6 separate regions of the Homo sapiens genome follow, and regions 1, 3, 4, 5 and 6 are each linked to region 2. Evidence: promoter capture Hi-C in human tissues and cell types (Jung and others, 2019). All regions are on one chromosome and are shown on one strand. The core of a region is centred on a gene start or on the middle of the fragment in contact, and the rest is flanking DNA. Distances in the headings are between cores, read along the strand shown.

Region 1 (3,199 bases), core at 619-3,118, 430 kb after region 2:
GTATGCAGATTTTATAGCTAGATTACAGGAGTCTCTTAAAAAGGTGATTGCAGATTCAGCTGCTCAGGACGTAGTGTTGTGGTTATTAGTTTTTGACAATGCCAATCCTGAGTGCCAAGCCACTCTGTGACCTATTAGGGGAAAAGCACATTTGGTTGACTATATTAAAGCTTGTGATGGTATTGGAGGTAATCTGCATAAGACTACTCTGCTAGCCCAGGCAATGGCAGGACTGAAAGTGGGTAAAGGAAATACTCCACTTCCTGGAGCTTGTTTTAACTGGGGGAAGCATGATCATATTGAAAAAGAATGTAGAAAAAACCAGCAAGTCAGGCTGCCAGTTGGGGGAAAAAAGAAATCTGCTGACCCTGAAATATGTCCAAAATGTAAAAAACGAAAACACTGGGCTAATCAGTGTCACTCTAAGTTTGATGAAGATGGGAACCCGATTTCAGGAAACGCCATGAGGGGCCCGTCCCAGGCCTCATTCCAAACCGGGGCATTTCCAGCTCAGGCCACTCCCTCACCCCCATACAATACCTGTCCCCTGCCATAGCTGGTAGTAGATTTATGCTGCACAAAACCTGTGAGCTTTCTGCCTGAGGAACCCCCGCAAAAAGTGCCAACAGGAGTCTGTGGCACCCCTTGCCAGTGGGGACAGTAGGATTACTTCTAGGTAGGTCTAGTTTAAATTTAAAAGGAGTGCAAGTACATGCAGGAGTCATTGATTCAGATTACAATGGGGAAATTTAAATTGTTATATCTACTTCTGTTCCCTGGAAAGCAGAGCCAGGAGAGCCCATAGCACAGCTCCTGTGCTACGAACAAGAGGATTTGGAAGCTCCTGTGCTATGAACTAAATGAACAGGAGGATTTGGAAGCTCGAATAAACAAGGCAAAGCAGCTTACTGGGTGAATCAAATTACTAATAAACATCCTACCTGTGAAATAACTATTAAGGAAAAAAATTTAAAGGATTGGTAGATACAGGAGAGGACATTTCAATCATTTCTCTACAGCACTGGCTGTCCGTGTGGCCAATTCAACCCACTCGATTTAACACAGTTGGAGTTGGCATAGCCCCTAAAGTATATCAAAGCAGTTATATATTGCATTGTGAAGGACCCAATGAACAATCTGGGACTATTCAACCAATTGTAACTTCTGTTTTTTGTTTTTTGTTTTTTTGAGACAGAGTCTGGCTCCATCCCCTAGGCTGGAGTGCAGTGGCGTGATCTCAGCTCACTGCAAGCTCTGCCTCCCAGGTTCACGCCATTCTCCTGCCTCAGCCTCCCAAGTAGCTGGGACCACAGGTGCCCACCACCATGCCCGGCTAATTTTTTTGTATTTTTAGTAGAGACGGGGTTTCACCATGTTGGCCAGGATGGTCTCAAACTCCTGACCTCGTGATCAACCCACCTTGGCCTCCCAAAGTGCTGGGATTACAGGCTTGAGCCACCACACCCAGCCAACCAATTGTAACTGCTGTACCTATAAATTTATGGGGAAGAGATTTATTACAGCAATGGGGAGCACAAGCGTTCATTCCAGAACAATTATATAGCCCTCAAAGTCAGCATACGATGCAAGAGATGGGGTATGTGCCTGGCATGGGATTAGAAAAAAATTTAAAAGGGTTAAAGAAACCACTTCAAGCAGAAGGACAAAATTCCCACCAGGGTTTAGGATATAATTTTTCATGGCAGCCATTGTTAAGCCTCCAGAACCTATACCTTTAAAATGGTTAACAAATAAACCAACTTGGATAAAACAATGGCCGCTAAGTAAAGAGAAACTGGAGGCTTTAGAGGACTTAGTTACTGAACAATTAGAAAAAGGACACACAGCTCCAACATTTTCCCCCTGGAATTCTCCAGTCTTTGTTATTAAGAAAAAAATCACATAAATGGAGCATGTTGACAGATCTTAGAGCCATTAATTCAGTTATACAACCTATGGGGACATTGCAGCCAGGACTGCCTTTTCCTGCTGATTCTAAAAAATTGGCCTTTAATAGTCATAGATTTAAAAGACTGTTTCTTTACTATCCCCTTAGCTGAGCAAGGCTGTGAACGGTTTGCATTTATAATTCCTGCGGTAAACAACCTGCAGCCTGCTAAGCGTTTTCATTGGAAAGTGTTGCCACAAGGCATGTTAAACTGTCCAACAATTTGTCAGACTTATGTAGAACAAGCAATTGAACCTACTCATAAAAAATTTTCAGTGTTATATTATTCATTATATGGACGATATTCTTTGTGCTGCCCCCACTCAGGAAATATTACTCCAATATTATGATCACTTAAAAAATTCGATTTCTCATGCCAGTTTAATTATAGCTCCTGACAAAAATTCAGACCACTACTCCTTACTCCTACTTAGGGACCTTAGTAAATGACACTACAGTAGTGCCACAGAAAGTAACCATAAGGATCAATTGAAAACACTGAATGACTTTCAAAAATTACTAAGGGACATTAATTGGATACAACCTGCTCTAGGCATTCCTACCTATGACATGAGTAATCTATTTTCTATCCTTAAAGGAGATCCTAGTCTCACTAGCCCTCAGCAATTAACAAAGGAGGCTGAGGCAGAGTTACAACTCATTGAAAAACAAGTACATAAAACCTCAAATAAATAGAATAGATCCAGAAAAGGCTTTAGATTTATTGATTTTTCCAACTTAGCATTCACCTACTGGTGTTACTGTCCAAAAGCAGACTTGGTAGAATGGCTTTTTCTTCCACATATGAATTCATGGATTCTAATTCATTATTTGGATCAAATTGCTACTCTGATAGGGAATGGGAGAATTTGAATTGTTAAACTGCATGGATATGACCCTGAAAAAATTATTGTCCCTCTTACAAAGGCACAAATACAACAATCCTTTATAAATCATCTTACTTAGCAAAACCACTTAGCTGATTTCGTGGGAGTGCTTAATAATCACTTTCCAAAAACAAAATTATTTCAATTTTTAAAACTAACTAGATGCTCCCTAGAATGACTAAATTTAAACCAATTAAAAGTGCTGAAAATGTTTTTACAGATGGGTCTAGTAACAGTAAAGCTTCTTACTCTGGATCAAAAACTAAAGTCTTCCACACGCCCTATACTTCAGCTCAAAAATCGGAGCTTGTAGCTGTAATTAAGGTACTGACTGCTTTTAAGATGCCTGTCAATGTAATTTCTA
Region 2 (3,483 bases), core at 764-3,263:
ACGGTGGCTCACGCCTGTAATCTCAGCAGTTTGGGAGGCGGAGGCGGGTGGATCACGAGGTCTAGAGATCGAGACCATCCTGGCCAACATGGTGAAACACCGTCTCTACTAAAAAAAAATACAAAAAAAAAAAAACCCAAAAAAATTAGCCAGGCGTGGTAGCGGGAGCCTGTGGTCCCAGCTACTCCGGAGGCTGAGGCAGGAGAATGGCGTGAACCCGGGAGGCGGAGCTTGCAGTGAGTCGAGATTGCGCCACTGCACTCCAGCCTGGGCGACAGAGTGAGACTCCGTTTAAAAAAAAAAAAAAAAAAAAAAAGAATATTTCTGGCCGGGCGCGGTGGCTCACGCCTGTAATCCCAGCACTTTGGGAGGCCGACGCGGGCGGATCACAAGGTCAGGAGATAGAGACCGTCCTGGCTAACTCGATGAAATCCCATCTCTACTAAAAATACAAAAAATTAGCCAGGCATGTTGGCTCACGCCGTAACCCCAGCACTTTAGGAGGCTGAGGCAGGCAAATAACTTGGAGTGAGGAGTCCGATACCGGCCTGGTCAACATGGTCAACCCCGTCTCTACTAAAAATACAAAAATTAGCCTGGCATGGTGGCGCACGCCTGTAATGCCAGCTGTTCCCAAGGCTGGGGCAGGAGAATCGCTTGAACCCAGGAGGCAGAGGATGCATTTAGTCGAGATCTCGCCACTGCACTCCAGCCTGGGCAACAGAGAAATACTCTGTCTCAAAAATAATAATAATAATAATAATAATAATAATAATAATACAAGAAAGTAATAGATCTCTTCCATAAATGTGCTAGGACAACTATCTGGATATCCACATGGAAAAGAATAATGTTGGATCCCTATGTCACACAATCAAAAATTTTATTTGCGAAAGTTTTTTTTAAAAAAAAAGAGAGAGAGAGAGACAAGAAAGGGAGACCGCGGCAGTGGGCGTTATTTTGTCGCTCAGGCTGGCTTGGAACCCGAGGCTCAGGGATCCTCCCGCCGCTGCTTCCTGAGTAGCTGGGACCTCAGGCTCCCGCCCCCGCGCCTCTGCTGTCTTTAAGCAGCAGGTGGTGACCTCACTCCTTCTCGGCCTGAGCACTCCGTCCGGCATTCCAGGCGGTGGCTTCAGGGAAGTCTCTGAAGCTGAGCACAGGGCGGAGTCTCCTTCCGGAGTGAATGGACAATAGAAAGGGAGAGGATATCTATCTGTTCTGTGGGACCTCAGCATGACATGGTACATACCGCCCAGGCAGGGCTTTGCATTTCACATTCTAGTTTGTATCCCTGTTCCAGACAATTACAGTGTAGCAGGACGAGTCGCAGACAAAACCTCTCAGACACCGAGTTGTAGAAGGAAGGGCTTTATTCAGCTGGGAGCATTGGCAAGCTACTGCCTTAAAATCCAAGCTCCCCGAGTGCACAATTTCTGTCCCTTTTAAGGGCTCACAACACTAAAGATTTCAGATGAAAGGATAGTGACTGATTGAGCAAGCAAGGGATACGTGACAGGGGCTGCATGCACCGGTGATCAGGGAGAGAGAGAACAGGGCAGGAGTTTCACCGTGTTCTTCTATACAATGTCTGGAATCTATGCCTAACATCAGCTTCTAAATCATAAGTTGATTTTTAACTACTGGGTTTAGGCCAGGCGGATCCAGGCCTGGTTTCGGGCCTGGCGCGGGGCTGCCTGTCTTTGGTTTTACTTCCTGTTGTTTTTACTGACTATAAAACAATATAAAACAATGTCAGAGGGTCTCTCTCTTCTCTCAACAGGGCTTTTGTATCATGCCTCAGACTTTCTGGCGCTCTCGCCTCCAAAACCTGAAAACAGAGACGCTGGGAGCGAGGCTGAGAGACGCGCAGATCCCGCCCCGGCCCTGCCCTCTGCCGGTTCTAAAAGGCAAGGTCTCTCCGCCTCGCGCCCCGCCCCTACCTCGCCCAGGCCCCGCCTACCTCCCACTTCCCGCCCAGGCCTGGCTTTTGTCCTGCGCGCGCAGATTAACGCAAACCCGGAAGCGGATCGGGTGGAGTGTAGGTCATATCGCCGCGGTGAGTTTTGCTCTGTGTTGTATTAAGTCTGCGCTAACTAGGTTCCCAGGGCTTCTGTCCCTGGGACGTGGGGTCCCCACAGACCTGGAAATTCTCCGGCGTCTTCCTTTGCCCAGAGCAAATTGAGACATCCCCGTGAGAGCCCGAGGGTCGCTTCCTTTTGGGTTTAAAGTCGTCCTGAGGCTGGTCTCGTCCCCGGTCTTTCTGCTATAGGTCAATGTATACACTTTCTGTTGCGTAGTTTTCCTGCTGAAAACCTTGTTCTGACTCCTCGCGCCCCGCGCTTTTTAAAGTCTTCACCCGCGATGTGGATTCTTGCCCAGGGCGCCTCCCAGCCTCCCCCTCCTCAGCCCCGGGAGCGCCGCGCCGCAGCCCCAGTCCCGGGGAGGCCGAGTCCTCTGCCAGGTCCTGGGATCCTGCAGACCCCATCCTGGTCCTAAGGCGCCGTCGCGCCCCCCCCCCCCGCCCCGCACCTTCCTCCTCATGCCGGGGCCTGCTGCTCCCCAGGTCTCCCCTCCGCAGTCACCGCTTTCATTGAACCTGCACTGGGGAGGTCCCAGGGGCCTGTCCTGCGGCACGGGGTATTCTTGCCTGCGGAGCTCCAGGGCGTGGAAAATGCGCTCCTCCGGGATGCAGGCGTCTTACTCCAAACCGTGTTGCGATTGTGTGGGCCAAAGGAATCAGGAGACAGAGAGCAGTAGAAAACCTGAGGCAGAGAAAAGAAGAATAAGAAAGGCCCATAACAGATGGCAAAATAGAGGATTGGTGAGGGATATGCCAAGAGATGGCAGAAGTGAAAAAAAAAAAAAAAAACCTAAGAAAGCAGGAGGAGAAAAGCAACCGGAGAAATGTAGAGAAAGGCTAGATAGATGTACAGAGAGATGAAGGATCACAAGGTAGGGGGAGTGGCAGCAAAGAGGGAGACTCATCAGAGTGAGGGAGAGAGGGAAGGATTTGGAGCCAGGGCAGACAGAGCAGAGTGGTGCTTGTGTCAAGGAGAACAGAGGGAGAACCACAGCAGAGAGGACAGCTGGGATCTGGGGAGACACAGAGTGGGGACAAGGGAGTATATCGGGGAAGATGGAATTTAACAGGGAGAGCAGAGGAGGCGCAGAGATGGGAGAAGAGGCAGAAATAGATGGAGATTGAGGACGATTGAAAGATTGGGGAGAAGGAGCAATAAGAGGTTAAATAAGTTGTGAGGATGGAGGAGAAGAGGTGGAAGAGAAGGAATAAAGGGAAGAAGGGGATGAATAGCAGGAGAGGAGAGGGGTACAAAATGAAGAGCAGAATCCCAGGGAAAAAGAAAAGAAAACAAGAGCTAGAGAGAGAAGGGGAGAATGAGAGATATGTACAGAATTAGGGAGGGAAGCACAGTAATGAAGAAAGAGGGTCTGGACACAGTGGCTCACGCCTGTAGTCTGTAG
Region 3 (3,347 bases), core at 257-2,756, 430 kb before region 2:
CTCACTCCAGCCTGGGCAACAAGAGCAAAAGTCCTTCTCAAAAAAAAGAAAGAAAGAAAGAAAGAAATATAACTGTTATATACCACTTGTTAATGTTGCAAAATGTTTGCTCTGTGTGGGTATATAGGGGTATGTAGTTTTATAACAGGTATTCAGAAAAATAGTTTTTTCTGACATTTTAAAATTGAATTCCTCCTCGTTTTTTCAGTGCTATTATTGTTTTCCAATTCAAAATTACTAGTTCTTTAATTATTCATTACATATGTTTGCTGTGAGTTATTTGCCATTAGAGTATATCATGTTGTGCTTCAGCATTTACTTATGCATAACAAATATGCTTTAAATAGGCACAATCTAAGAATTATTTCTCTTGAATTCTGTGACAGCCATATAAAATATACTGCCAATTGGTAGCCTTGGGTCATGGTTGAAAAATACTCCTTTCAGGGCTAATATGGGTTTGCACAATATGAGTGTTTTGTTCACAGAATGTTTAAAACTAGGATCCCCTACTATTTGAATTACATGTTACCACCTTTTCTTTGATAAGGAATCCTGTTCCTTTTGTGTTCTGGAAAATTATGGTTCTGAAGAATCGTAAGTCTGTTCAACATAACTATTACTTTTGGTGTAACATTAGGTTTTTCAATGGGAAATAGTTATTTACCTACTATAGTTAACTGGAAATCTATGGTTGTTTATATCTTACAGATATCTCTTGTAAATGTGTAAACACGGATTTGCCACCAAAGGGGAAGAACAATATGGGAGAAGCGTTCTACACGGTGAAGTTGGAGAGACTTGAAAGCTGTGACACTGTAGGCTTGTCCTTCCAGGAAGTTCAGAAAAATACATACGACTTTGAGTGTCAGTGGAAAGATGATGAAGGAAATTATAAAACAGTACTTATGTTGCAAAAAGAAAATCTCCCTGGTAGAAGAGCTCAACGTGATAGAAGGGCTGCAGGAAACAGGCATATTGAAAATCAGCTTGGAGTAAGCTTTCAGTCACATCTCCCTGAACTGCAGCAATTTCAACATGAAGGGAAAATTTATGAATACAATCAAGTTGAGAAGTCTCCTAATAATCGAGGAAAACATTATAAATGTGATGAATGTGGCAAGGTCTTCAGTCAAAACTCACGGCTAACAAGTCATAAGAGAATTCATACTGGAGAGAAGCCTTACCAGTGTAATAAGTGTGGCAAAGCCTTTACTGTTCGTTCAAACCTAACAATCCATCAGGTCATCCATACTGGAGAAAAACCTTACAAATGTAATGAATGTGGAAAGGTCTTCAGTCAACCTTCAAACCTTGCAGGTCATCAGAGAATTCATACTGGAGAGAAACCTTACAAGTGTAATGAGTGTGGCAAAGCCTTTAGAGCACATTCAAAACTAACTACACATCAGGTCATCCATACTGGAGAAAAACCTTACAAATGTAAGGAATGTGGCAAGTGCTTCACTCAAAATTCACACCTTGCAAGTCATCGAAGAATTCATACTGGGGAGAAGCCTTACAAGTGTAATGAGTGTGGCAAAGCCTTTAGTGTTCGCTCAAGCCTGACTACCCATCAGACAATCCACACTGGAGAAAAACCTTACAAATGTAATGAATGTGGCAAGGTCTTCAGGCACAATTCATACCTTGCAAAGCATCGGCGAATTCATACTGGTGAGAAACCTTACAAGTGTAATGAGTGTGGGAAAGCCTTCAGTATGCATTCAAACTTAACTAAGCATCAGATCATCCATACCGGAGAAAAGCCTTTCAAATGTAATGAATGCGTCAAGGTTTTCACTCAGTATTCACACTTAGCAAATCATCGAAGAATTCATACTGGAGAGAAACCTTACAGGTGTGATGAGTGTGGCAAAGCCTTTAGTGTGCGATCAAGCCTAACTACCCATCAGGCAATTCATACTGGAGAAAAGCCTTACAAATGTAATGACTGCGGTAAGGTCTTCACACAAAATTCACACCTTGCAAGTCATCGGGGAATTCATTCTGGAGAGAAACCTTACAAGTGTGATGAATGTGGTAAAGCCTTCAGTCAAACATCACAACTTGCAAGGCATTGGAGAGTTCATACTGGAGAAAAACCTTACAAGTGTAATGAGTGTGGCAAAGCCTTTAGTGTTCATTCAAGCCTAACTATACATCAGACAATACATACTGGACAAAAACCATACAAATGTAATGATTGCGGCAAGGTCTTCAGACACAATTCGTACCTTGCAATTCATCAGAGAATTCACACTGGTGAGAAACCTTATAAGTGTAATGAGTGCGGCAAAGCATTTAGTGTACATTCAAACCTAGCTACCCATCAGGTCATCCATACTGGAGAAAAACCTTACAAATGTAATGAATGTGGCAAGGTCTTCACTCAAAATTCACATCTTGCAAATCATAGAAGAATTCACACTGGAGAAAAACCTTATAGGTGTAATGAGTGTGGGAAAGCCTTCAGTGTTCGTTCAACCCTAACTACCCATATGGCAGTCCATACTGGAGACAAACCTTACAAATGTAACCAATGTGGCAAGGTCTTTACTCAAAATTCAAACCTTGCAAAACATCGAAGAATTCATAGTGGATAGAAACCTTACAAAGGACGCCGGGCGTGGTGGCTCACGCCTGTAATCCCAGCACTTTGGGAGGCCGAGGCGGGGGGATCACCTGAGGTCTCGAGTTCGAGACCAGGCTGGCCAACACGGTGAAACGCTGTCTCTACTAAAAATACAAAAATTAGCTGGGTGTGGTGGTGCACGCCTGTAATCCCAGCTACTCGGGAGGCTGAGGCAGGAGAATCACTTGAACCTGGGAGGCGGAGGTTGCAGTGAGCGAGATCATGCCATTGCACTCCAGCCTGGGCAACAGGAGTGAAACTCCATCTCCAAAAAAAAAAAAAAAAAAAAAGTAACCTTACAAAGGAGTGCGGCCAGTTTTTCAGCCACAAATTCTTTCACAACATCAGAGAATTCATTCTTGAGACAATTCTTACAAATACAGTGACTGTGGCAAACTCCTGATGAGTTTAAGCATTAACAGACATCAGAGTTCAAATCCTGTGAATATACTATGTATGACAGAAGCTTTATCCAGGTCTCAGAGCTCAATACGCATCAAAAGATACATCTTTGATGAAGTCACACAAACGTAACATGCATGCTGAGACTATTACTCCTGGACCACAACTGTAGGTGAGGATTCATAGGAAGAGTAGAACTCAGTCTCTAGTTTCCTCATAACCCTCTGATATTATATACTTCAGCATAATCAGAAGTCCAAATGTGTTAAAACTCATTACATGATACATATCAAAGGTTGTAGGATGTTTG
Region 4 (3,585 bases), core at 981-3,480, 350 kb after region 2:
ATCAGTGTATGGCATCATCATTCTCAATATATAATACAAACTTTAGGTGGACTTCAAACAAATTCCAGTACAGCAGTCAAAAGTTCAAATTATCGGTCAAGCATGGTGGCTCACACCTGTAATCTCAGTACTTTGGGAGGCTGAGGCGGGTGGATCACGAGGTCAAGAGATCAAGACCATCCCGGCCAACATGGTGAAACCCTGTCTCTATTAAAAATACAAAAATTAGCTGGGCGTGGTGGTGCACGCTTGTAGTCCCAGGTACTCATGAGGCTGAGGCAGCCGTTTGAACCCGGGAGGCAGAGGTTGCCATGAGCCAAGATCGCGCCACTGCACTCCAGCCTGGTGACAGAGACTCTGCCTAAAAAAAAAAAAAAAAAAAAAAAAGTTCAAATTGCCAAAAATGTTGTAAGGGGAAGTATATGAAGTTTCTAGTTAATCTACAAAAGCAAAAAAAACTCCCATTCTATGTGACCATTCTTAAAATTTATGGGCCAGGCGCAGTGGCTCACACCTGTAATCCCCGCACTTTGGGAGTCCGAGGCGGGTGGATCACAAGGTCAGGAGTTTGAGACCAGCCTAGCCAATATGGTGAAACCTTGTCTCTACTAAAAATACAAAAATTAGCCGGGCGTGGTGGTGCGCGCCTGTAGTCACAGTTATTTGGGAGGCTGAAGCAGAAGAATTGCTTCAACCTGGGAGGTGGAGGTTGCAGTGAGCCGAGATCGTGCCACTGCACTCCAGACTCTGTCTCAAAAAAAAAAAAAAAAAGAAAATTTATGAACATTAATATTTTCCACTTACGTCACTGAGCACTACTAGGAAAAAAAAAAAAGACATGCACTACTAGGAAAAAAAAGACATTGTGGTACAGTATTTTCACTCTTATTAACATACTTTCTTTCATTTAATAGTATTTGTCGCCAGGCACAGTGGCTCACGCCTGTAATCCTAGCACTTTGGGAGGCCGAGGCAGGCAGATTGCCTGAGTTCAGGAGTTCGAGAACAGCCTGGGCAACATGGTGAAACCCCGTCTCTAATAAAATACAAAAAATTAGCTGGGCGTGGCAGCGTGCGCCTGTAGTCCCAGCTATTAGGGAAGCTGAAGCAGGAGAATTGCTTGAACCCGGGAGGCAGAGGTTGCAGTGAGCCGAGATTGTGCCACTGCACTCCAGCCTGGGTGACAGAGCAAGACACTGTCTCAAAAAAAAAAAAAAGTATTTGTCATATATTTGTATTTTTGCTTCATAAAAATTAAGGTGCATGCCATGAGTCTTCCTTGGCACACAATAGGCACGTAGAAATATAATGAACAGTGAATGTTTCATGGACTTTTGAGGGTGTAGGAGGCTGAAGTGGCACAGAAAGAATAACTCAAGTATTAAGTATGATTAGTGTAAATTATACTTACCCAAGGATATGCACCACAAGTGTGTGCATATGTTGATTTCACACACACAAAATTGTTCTGGATGCGTCAACCTTAATGGTGCATTTTTTAAAAATGCCTATTTTACACTAAAGTTAGAGTGATTAGACACATATCACTGCTACATAACTCAGTGTGAAGACAAAGAAAACCAAATTGCAGAGTATTTACTATTAATGTTGCATTACTGTGCAGTATATTCTCCTAAGGGGGACTAAAACAATTGGTAGAAATGATGTGATTCATTCATACTTAGGAAAATTTTATTAATTAAAACATGAGAACTATGTACATTCTAAATCAAACAGTTGGAAATTATGCCAACAGTTAAATGTAAATGCTACTCAAGAACATGGCATACTGGTAGTTTAAATTCTCTAATCAACTGTTCTCTCTTCCATTTCAAAAATGACCACTATTTTTTTTTTTTTTTTTTTTGAGACAGAGTTTTGCTCTTGTCACCCAGGCTGGAGTGCAATGGTGCGATCTTGGCTCACTGCAACCTCTGCCTCCCGGGTTCAAGCGATTCTCCTGCCTCAGCCTCCCGAGTAGCTGGGATTACAAGCATCTACCACCACGCTCAGCTAATTTTTGTATTTTTAGTAGAGATGGGGTTTGGAGATATTGACCAGGCTGGTCTCAAACTCCTGACCTCAAGTGATCCACCCACCTTGCCTCCCAAAGTGCTGGGATTACAGGTGTGAGCCACCGCGCCCAGCCAAAAATGACTACTTTTTAATCATTCTTGCCTAAACAGTGATTGCTATGCAGTCCTAGTGCCCACCATCTCCCTTGCATGATTTCTACAGATATGCTCTATTTCATGGCTAGTTGGTAGAGCACAGAAGCACTGTGCCATTCTGTCAGGAAAAAAGTGCTCAGCAACAGTATGATGACTGCCATCATCATTTTATATGATTCCTCCCCACCTCCATGCTCTCTAAATCAGACAATAATAAGAAAACGCAGTGTCCTTCTTCCTCGGCAAACTGATAGAAATGATTCTCAGCTAATGAAGTCATCCCTGTCATCATACTGCTTCTTTTTCTTTCTTTTTTTTTTTTTTTTTGAGACAGAGTCTCACTCTGTCCCCCAGGCTGGAGTGCAGTGGCGTGATAGCTCACTGCAAGCTCCACCTCCCAGGTTCACACCATTGTCCTGCCTCAGCCTCCCGAGTAGCTGGGACTACAGGCGTCTGCCACCATGCCTGGCTAATTTTTTGTATTTTTAGTAGAGATGGGGTTTCACCATGTTAGCCAGGATGGTCTTGATCTCCTAACCTCGTGATCCGCCCGCCTCAGCCTCCCAAAAGTACTGAGATTACAGGCGGGAGCCACCGCGCCCAGCATCCTACTGATTCAAGAGACCACAGTGAAAGGTCTGTAAAGAAGTCACATGAAGTGATTTCAGAGTTGAGGATGAAAGTCATAAAATGTAAAGTAGCCTTTTCAAAAAACCCCATATAATTAGGTTTTTTAATTGCCTGAATATAACTGACCATTTCCACATGCCCTTGGACCTTCGACATGCATCGCGTCATGAGATTCAACGTATTTGGAGCTGTGACTTTTCTGCAGCATGCAGTATCATAAATATTGGAGAACTAGAGACTGAATTATCGCTTGTGTAAATCTTATCATGTTCCATAGTAATGGTCCTTGAATAATAGCCTCAGCATACATAATCCATCTGTATGGTTTCATCCAAGATGTATGTTTTGATATCTAGTCATTTGGCAGGCCTCAAGAGACCTGATTCACATACATTGCTATGATTTCTCTTTAGTATGGAATCTCTGATGTTGATTAATGCTAGAACTTAGCATGAAGAGTTTGCCATACTCAGTTTGTAAGAACTCTCTCATGAATGAATTATCTCATGCTGTGCAAGGTGTGAATTATTACTAAAGATCTTACCACACACATTTCATCTGTACGGTTTCTCTCCAGTATGGATTCTGTGATGATTTGCCAGGTTTGAATTTCGAGTGAAGTCCTTACCACATTCATGACATCTGTACGGTTTCTCCCCAGTATGAATTCTCTCATGTTTTTTTAGGTATAACTTGTGGCTGAAGACCTTGCCACATTCATTGCATTTGTAAGACTTCTCTCCAGTATGAATTTGCCTATGTCGTGCAAGGTGTGAATTGTGAC
Region 5 (3,550 bases), core at 578-3,077, 380 kb after region 2:
TTTAATTTTTTGTAGAGATAACGTCTCATTATGTTGCTGGTCTCAAACTCCTGGGATCAAGTAATGCGCCCACCTCAGCCTCCAAAAATTCTTGGGTTACAGATATGAGGTACCATGCCGGGCCTGGAGCCTTTAAAATACGCTGTGGAATAAACCCTGTAAATGTTAAGTATGTATTACCATGAGATCTGTGAACCACTCTAGCAAATTAATCAAACCCAAAGAGGGAGCCATGGGAACCCCAACTTTTGAAGCCAGTTGGTCGAAAGTTCCAGAGGCCTGGACTTATGACCCGTGTCTGAAAGGGGGCAGTATTGGAGACTGAGCCCTCAACCTGTGGCATGTGACACGCTCTCCAGGTACACAGCATCAGAATAGAATTCAAGGGCCCCCAGCAAGTAGCCACTGCAGAACTGATTGCTTATTGGTGGAAGTAAAACTCACATTTGGTGACATAAGTTGTCTGTGTTTATTGTTGCGTGGTGCAAGACCAGACAGAGGAAGATACGGTTTGAGTTTTGCCCCTCAGTCTTAAATAACAAATTACGGCAAGTCAGTGTAATGGTATTTCTGAGATTAAGATGGCAACAATTTTAAAACAGCATATTCTTAAGATATAAAAAATTTCCATATTATACACTGTAATACATTTAATTGGCAAAAGTGTTGTTCAATAGTAGCTACTAAGTCACGTACAACAAAGGAAAACAAATATTTAAACTCCTATTCAAAAATTTCTGGAGTGTCAGTTTTAGAGACTCTCCTGCTGAGGCATACCCTGTGCATTTAAAAAAACCACACTCAAAAATATATAAATCAATGGCCATTCCCTGATACTACAGCCCTACAGATACAAAATAATAAACACAAAGAGTATTATATGAAATATGGAACTGCTGACTAAATATACAAAAACCAAGTTAATTTATAATACATGGAAAGGTACAAGATGAAAGTAACAGTGGTTTGAACAAATGATGGTAGTGTTAAAACCAGAAGCATCTGGTTGCTATTTTGTGCCATGTTCCCCATGGGGACCTAGGGATCGAATACAGGGTCTTTCTGTTGACTATCTGCCCCACTCAGCTGAGTAAGCATCTCAGAAGAGCCACCTACTCCCCTGTGACACACACCAGTAAAGTGTGGATGAAGCACAACTGAAGAATGGCTGAGGGGCCTTGTGGAATAAGAATACATACATACATTGGTCTCTTCCCCGGTTCCTGACACAGAGCTCTGAAGACCTTGAGATGTCCTGGGTGGTACGAGTGTGATCTGCTCTAATGAGGCAACCTTTGTGGGTTCCTTGGATGGGGCTGATTACCAGAAAGACCAGGCCATACTTAGAAGCATGAAACTGTCAGCCCCACCCACTAGCTTCTAGGAGAGGGGCTGGAGATTGAGTTAATATCAATCACGCCTACGTGATGAAGCCGCTCGTGAACTATGGGGTCACAAGAGGTTCCAAATGCTGAAGACACACAGGCGCCTGGAGGGCGGCACACCCAGTCAATCTTCCCACGTGCCTCGCCCTGTGAATCTCCTCATCTGGCTGTCCATCTGTATCCTTAGAAACATCCTGCATCATGAACCAGTGAACCTAATGAAGTGTCTCACTGAGTTCTGTGAGCCACCCGAGCAAAGTAATCAACCCAAGAAGGGAGTCGAGGGAACCCAGCTTACAGCTGTGTTGGTCAGACAGAAAGGTGACAATCTACTACTAACAAGTGGTGGCTGAGGTGGGCGACAGGCTTGGGAACCCAACCCTTAGCCTGTGGGATCTGATTCTAACTCCAGGTAGACAGTGTTAGAAATGAATTATAGAAAACCCAGTAAAGATCCAGTGAAAAATTGCCGATGGGGAGAAATCCCCACACATTTTGGTGACCAGAAGTGAAATGCTCTGTGCTGAGTGGCATGTGAGAATAGGAAAATCACTGGCTTCTTCCCATCCAAATAGACCTGAACAGGCAGAGGGGGCTGGAGGCACCTGTAGTTTCCAGGGCCCAGATGCAAAAAAGAGTAGCTCATGTTCTCTCATTTCCTGATTACATCTTCCCATTACAGGAAATGGGGTGGACCATGAATAGGTCAAGGGGGCAGGTCTATGAAGACCTCAGCTTTGACCTACAGGGACAGAAACTAAGCATCAGATGGAATCAAGTACAGGAAGAAAGACCACAGGGGAAAGAGACCCCTGGCAACAATGCTCCCTGTGTTCTTCAGAATCATGGAACAAAAGTTCACAGAAGCCACATGACAGGGTGCTGTCCATCAGGATAAAGACTTTGCTTTTGTCTCTGGGTGGCAACACCACTCGAGGGTGAAAAGATGAAACTATCACACATTTATAGAACTGAGTGACAAGAGAGAGCAAAGAAATATTTCCATTCAGAATGCCTAGGATTTAAACTTTTCTTTTCTCACAGAACTCTCCCACCTTTGGAGAGTTTCCCACACACTCTTGAATAGTTAGTATGGGCTGGGTGTGGTGGCTCACGTCTGTAATCCCAGGACTTTGGGAGGCTGAGGCAGGCAGATCACTTGAGGTCAGGAGTTTGAGACCCACCTGTCCAACATGGTGAAATTCCGTCTCTACTAAAAACACAAAAATTAGCTGGGTGTGGTGACACATGCCTGTAATCTCAGCTACTGGGGAGGCTGAGGCACGAGAATCACTTGAACCTGGGAGGCAGAAGTTGCAGTGAGCCGAGATCACACCACTGCACTCCAGCCTGGGCAACGGAGTGAGACAAAAAAAAAAAAAAAAAAAAAAAATAGTATGGCTTTGCAAGGTGCAGTGGCTATAATCTACAACTTTGGGAGGCCAAGGCAGGAGGATTGCTTGAGTCCAGGAGTTTGAGGCTGCAGTGAGCTATGATTGCCACTGCACTACAGCCTGGGTGATAGCGGAACACCCTGGCTCAAAAATAAAAAAATAAAAACTATGGCCTCCACACTGCCCATCAGAGCTCTTACCTGTGTTCACGCTTCTGACACATTCCCTTCCATCTGTATTTTTTACTATTTTAACTTGACTTTGCAGAATCAAGGGCTCTCTCCTTTGCTTCAACATGGAAATAATACTTAGGTCAGGAAGACAGATTCCTGTTAATAAAAAGAAAGAAACAAGATGTGCTGGGGCATTTCCAAAACCCAAACCCTGTGTTTAGGTAAGAGAGGGGATATCGCAAATGGATCAAGAATAATATCTCACAAGTTCACCCACAGACTGGCTCCTTCTGAATGCTTAGGGAATATGCAATATGTAGACACTGAGATCTCTTCCAAGAACTACTGACTTGTAAGCACAGGGGAGAAAACAGAGAACTGGTTATCCGGTGCCACCCAATGATGTATTATGAAGGGGGCGGTACATCTGAAGAAAGGACGCATTTCAAATCCAGAGAGCATAATAGAGCTTTTCATTTCTGAGTCAACAAGGTTTCTACCTCAGTTAAGCAATTTAGGGGCTCCCAAGAGGCACGCAAGAGAAAATGCAAAGACAGATTAGAGCAGATCCCGGCTTCTGGAGGGAAGTCATCCTCAC
Region 6 (3,442 bases), core at 531-3,030, 470 kb before region 2:
TTTTAAAAAAATACAAAAATTAGCCAGGTGTGGTGACATGTGCCTGTAGTTCCAGCTACTCAGGAGGCTGAGGGAAGAGAATTACTTGAACCTGGGAGGCAGAGGTTCCAGTGAGTTGAGATCTCACCACTGCATCACAGCCTGGGCAAGAGAGCCAGACTCTGTCTCGAAGAAAAAAAAAAAGAGGACCTCTCTGTCTAGTGCCATTCCAGACCTGAGTAAACAATCTCAGAAAACCCCGTGTACTCCCCTGTGGCGCACACTGCAATCTGTGGCAAAAGCAGAACAGAAGAAATGACTGAGGCTGAAAGACTTTGACAGACAGACAGGGCTGGAGACAGCACCATGAGGTTTCCGGAGCCCCAGATGCAAAGGAGGAGCTGCCAATGTTTTCCCGTCACCTGATTAGGTCTCCCAAGTACAGGAAATGGGGCAAAACCTGAATAGGTCAAGGGGGCAGGTCCATGGAGGCCTCAGCTCTGATCTGTATAGACAGAGAACTGAGCATCAGACGCAGTCAGGTACAGGAGAGATCACAGGAGACCTCTTGGACACAACCCTCCCTGTGCCCCTCAGAGTGAAGAAACCAAAGAGGTCACAGAAGCCACATGACAGGGTGTTGTCCATCATGATAAAGACTTTGCCTTTGTCACTGTTGGAGCTGTAGCGCCATGGGAGTGTGAAAGGATAAACTACTACACGTCAGAAGAGCAGAGGGATAAATGAGGGCAAAGAAAGGTTTCCATTGAGAGCTCACAGGATTTAAACCCTTTTTGTTCCACAGAACTCTTCAACTCGGAAGGAGTTACCTGAATACTAATGGTGCAGCTTCCTCTCTGTCCATTTGAGCTCTTACCTGTGTTCACACCTTTGATGCATTCCCAACCACTTGATGTTTTTGTTATTTTCACTTCACTCTCCACAGTCCAGGGCTCTTTCCCTTGCCCCAACATGGAGGTAATACTCATTTCAGAAAGAGAGATTCCTGCTTAGAAAAAGAAAGGCATGTAATGTGCTGTGGCTTTTACAGAATCCCAGCCCTTTGTTTAGAGGAGGAAAGAGGACATTACAAATGGATCTAGAAAAATATTTCACAAATTCACCCACTGAATGCCTCCTTCTGAATGTTTAGGGAACATGGTAAAATACGAACATCGAACTGTCCTCTAGGAAGTACTGAATCACAAGCAAAGGGGCAGAAAAGAGCAAAGTGGATTTTTTTACTTTTTCTTTTTCTTTTTTTTTTTTTTTTGAGATGGAGTTTCGCTCTTGCTGCCCAGGCTGGAGTGCAGTGGCGCGATCTCGGTTTACTGCAACCTCCGCCTCCCGGGTTCAAGTGATTCTCCTGCCTTGGCCTCCCAAGTAGCTGGGATTACAAGCGCTCGGCACCACGCCTGGCTAATTTTTTGTATTTTTAGTAGAGATGGGGTTTCACCATGTTGGCCAGGCTAGTCTCAAACTCCTGACCTCAGGTGACCCACCCGCCTTGGCCTCCCAAAGTGCTGGGATTACAGGCGTGAGCCACCACGCTGGCCCAAAGTAGATATTTTTAAAGTCTACCATAGGGTTTATTTCTACTTAAGCTCTGGAACCACCAATGATATATCTTGAAGGAGGTAGATCATTTGAAAATGGGATAATTAAGTCCAGATGCTGCACTATTAAGCTTTTCATCTGAGAATTAACATAGCTTCAGTCTTAATTGAGCAATGCAGGGGCTCCCAAGAGGCACACAGGGAACATGCAGAGATACAGCAGAGCAGATCCCAGCTTCTGGAGGGGCATTATCCTCACCCAGGGAGACCAGGTTCCTGTAGTTCTCCAACATCACGTCCCTGTACAAAGCCCTCTGAGCAGGGTCCAGGCATTTCCACTCCTCCTGAGAGAATTCGATGGCCACGTCCCTGAATGTCAACCTTCCCTGATATGAAAAAACACATTTCACCAAGAAGTCATGGGGAGAGCTATTATCTTCACACAAAATGACAAAAAGAGAGGTATAAGTCAATTTAGTTTAAATGAACGTTCTGGGAAATCCATGGAAAGGTATTTTCAGGCAAACCGTGTCTGAAAAACACATTTTACCAAGCACATGGGGGAGAGTTATCATCTTTACATAAAATGAGAAAAAGAGAGAATTGTATTGATTTACTGAAGGGAGAGTTCTGGCAGATCCATGCTAAGGTATTTTGGGGCATTTAGGGACGTTAGGAAGAACATTAGGTATGTCTCCCTAATTGCATTTTATTATACTCTTCTGTAAGAGCTTATGATATCTTCTAAATAAGTGTGGATTTCTCTTTCTGTAGACAATGGAAGAAACGTAGAAATAAATAGTCAACACACAGCTATCTCTATAGAAGTGCTAGATATTATGTTTGACACACAAAGTGATATTCAGTATCTGGAGGAGCTGGAAGAAGTGTGTTGTCTTCAGAGATGACAATGTCCATGGTGTCTTTAAAGAAAGAAAGGTCAGAATCTAAAAAGTGTGGCCGGGCGTGGTGGCTCACGTCTGTAATCCCAGCACGTTGGGAGGCCAAGGCTGGTGATCATGAGGTCAAGAGATTGATATCATACTGGCCAACATGGTGAAACCCCGTCTCTACTAAAAATACGAAAATTAGCTGGGCGTGGTGGTGCACACCTGTAATCTCAGGTACTCGGGAGGCTGAGGCAGGAGAATCACTTGAACCAGGAGGTAGAGGTTGCAGTGAGCCGAGATCGCACCACTGCACTCCAGCCTGGGAAACAAAGTAAGACTCCGTCTCAAAAAAATAAATAAATAAAATAAAATAAAAAAATAAAAATACGGAACTGATTTATGAAATGGTGATGTGTCGTCTATAAACGCCATAGGATAGTTCATCCATACATTCATGCACACATATATACACGAATGTAAATTAACAAAGAGAAAACATGCCTCTCAATGACATACTTTTTATGACTTTTTCATTATCATTTTTCCTCATGTGCATTTCAGCATCTTGGGGACAGTAAAGTGTATAAGTTGTATTTAACTTAGTTTGTCAACATTATGTTATATAATGCCAATAAAAGAATGGTAAAAACATGAAAAAAATATTTAAAACTTTAACTCCAATCCCTATGAAATAGTTATAGTCAAACTACAAATAAAATTCTATCCATTTAAATTTAAATATTTAGGCTGGGCGCAGTGGCTCACGCCTGTAATCCCAGCACTTTGGGAGGCTGAGGCGGGAGGATCACCTGAGGTCAAGAGTTCGAGACCAGCCTGGGCAACGTGGTGAAATGGCGGGCACCTGTAGTCCCAGCTACTCGGGAGGCTGAGGCAGGAAAATCACTTGAACCCGGGAGGCAGAGGCTGCAGTGAGCCAAGATCGCACCACTGTACTCCAGCCTGGGTAACAAAAAAAACAAAAAACAAAAACAAACAACAAAAAAAAAGAAAAATGAA

What was found. Contacts are between HindIII fragments. The study calls those that stand out against the background at their distance.
Region 1: a fragment that was not itself captured here is called in contact with the fragment with the promoter of ZNF611 in region 2 in 1 of the 25 tissues and cell types used here (adrenal gland).
Region 3: a fragment that was not itself captured here is called in contact with the fragment with the promoter of ZNF611 in region 2 in 1 of the 25 tissues and cell types used here (small bowel).
Region 4: a contact is called between a fragment that was not itself captured here and the fragment with the promoter of ZNF611 in region 2, in 1 of the 25 tissues and cell types used here (aorta).
Region 5: a contact is called between a fragment that was not itself captured here and the fragment with the promoter of ZNF611 in region 2, in 1 of the 25 tissues and cell types used here (aorta).
Region 6: a contact is called between a fragment that was not itself captured here and the fragment with the promoter of ZNF611 in region 2, in 1 of the 25 tissues and cell types used here (small bowel).

What each region holds. Positions count from the first base shown.
Region 1 is chr19:52,303,088-52,306,286 of GRCh38, reverse strand. All of the region lies in intron 2 of ZNF480 (zinc finger protein 480), which reads right to left. Among named protein-coding and RNA genes, the nearest start is that of ZNF480, 7.5 kb to the right of the region's middle. The HindIII fragment of the contact is 3,790 bases long and covers 1-3,199 here.
Region 2 is chr19:52,733,574-52,737,056 of GRCh38, reverse strand. ZNF611 (zinc finger protein 611) reads left to right here and starts at 2,013. Exons shown (of 6, transcript NM_001161499.2): 1 at 2,013-2,056. LOC124904760 (a long non-coding RNA gene) reads right to left here and starts at 3,026. Exons shown (of 2, transcript XR_007067328.1): 1 at 2,597-3,026; 2 at 1,353-2,263. RefSeq lists enhancers at 1,598-1,727, 1,040-2,025 and a silencer at 1,908-1,977. The HindIII fragment of the contact is 18,911 bases long and covers 1-3,483 here.
Region 3 is chr19:53,163,712-53,167,058 of GRCh38, reverse strand. It overlaps ZNF665 (zinc finger protein 665), which reads left to right. Exons shown (of 4, transcript NM_024733.5): 4 at 712-3,347. The coding sequence ends at 2,606. Among named protein-coding and RNA genes, the nearest start is that of ZNF347, 6.3 kb to the right of the region's middle. The HindIII fragment of the contact is 5,852 bases long and covers 1-3,347 here.
Region 4 is chr19:52,385,085-52,388,669 of GRCh38, reverse strand. It overlaps ZNF880 (zinc finger protein 880), which reads right to left. Exons shown (of 4, transcript NM_001145434.2): 4 at 2,875-3,585. The coding sequence ends at 3,356. Among named protein-coding and RNA genes, the nearest start is that of ZNF528-AS1, 11 kb to the left of the region's middle. The HindIII fragment of the contact is 8,137 bases long and covers 1-3,585 here.
Region 5 is chr19:52,353,809-52,357,358 of GRCh38, reverse strand. ZNF610 (zinc finger protein 610) reads right to left here. Exons shown (of 6, transcript NM_001161425.2): 5 at 2,980-3,108. Among named protein-coding and RNA genes, the nearest start is that of ZNF880, 14 kb to the left of the region's middle. The HindIII fragment of the contact is 5,710 bases long and covers 1-3,550 here.
Region 6 is chr19:53,202,495-53,205,936 of GRCh38, reverse strand. LOC124904792 (zinc finger protein 480-like) reads right to left here. Exons shown (of 5, transcript XM_047439805.1): 2 at 1,795-1,921; 3 at 857-988. Among named protein-coding and RNA genes, the nearest start is that of ZNF665, 11 kb to the right of the region's middle. The HindIII fragment of the contact is 4,533 bases long and covers 1-3,442 here.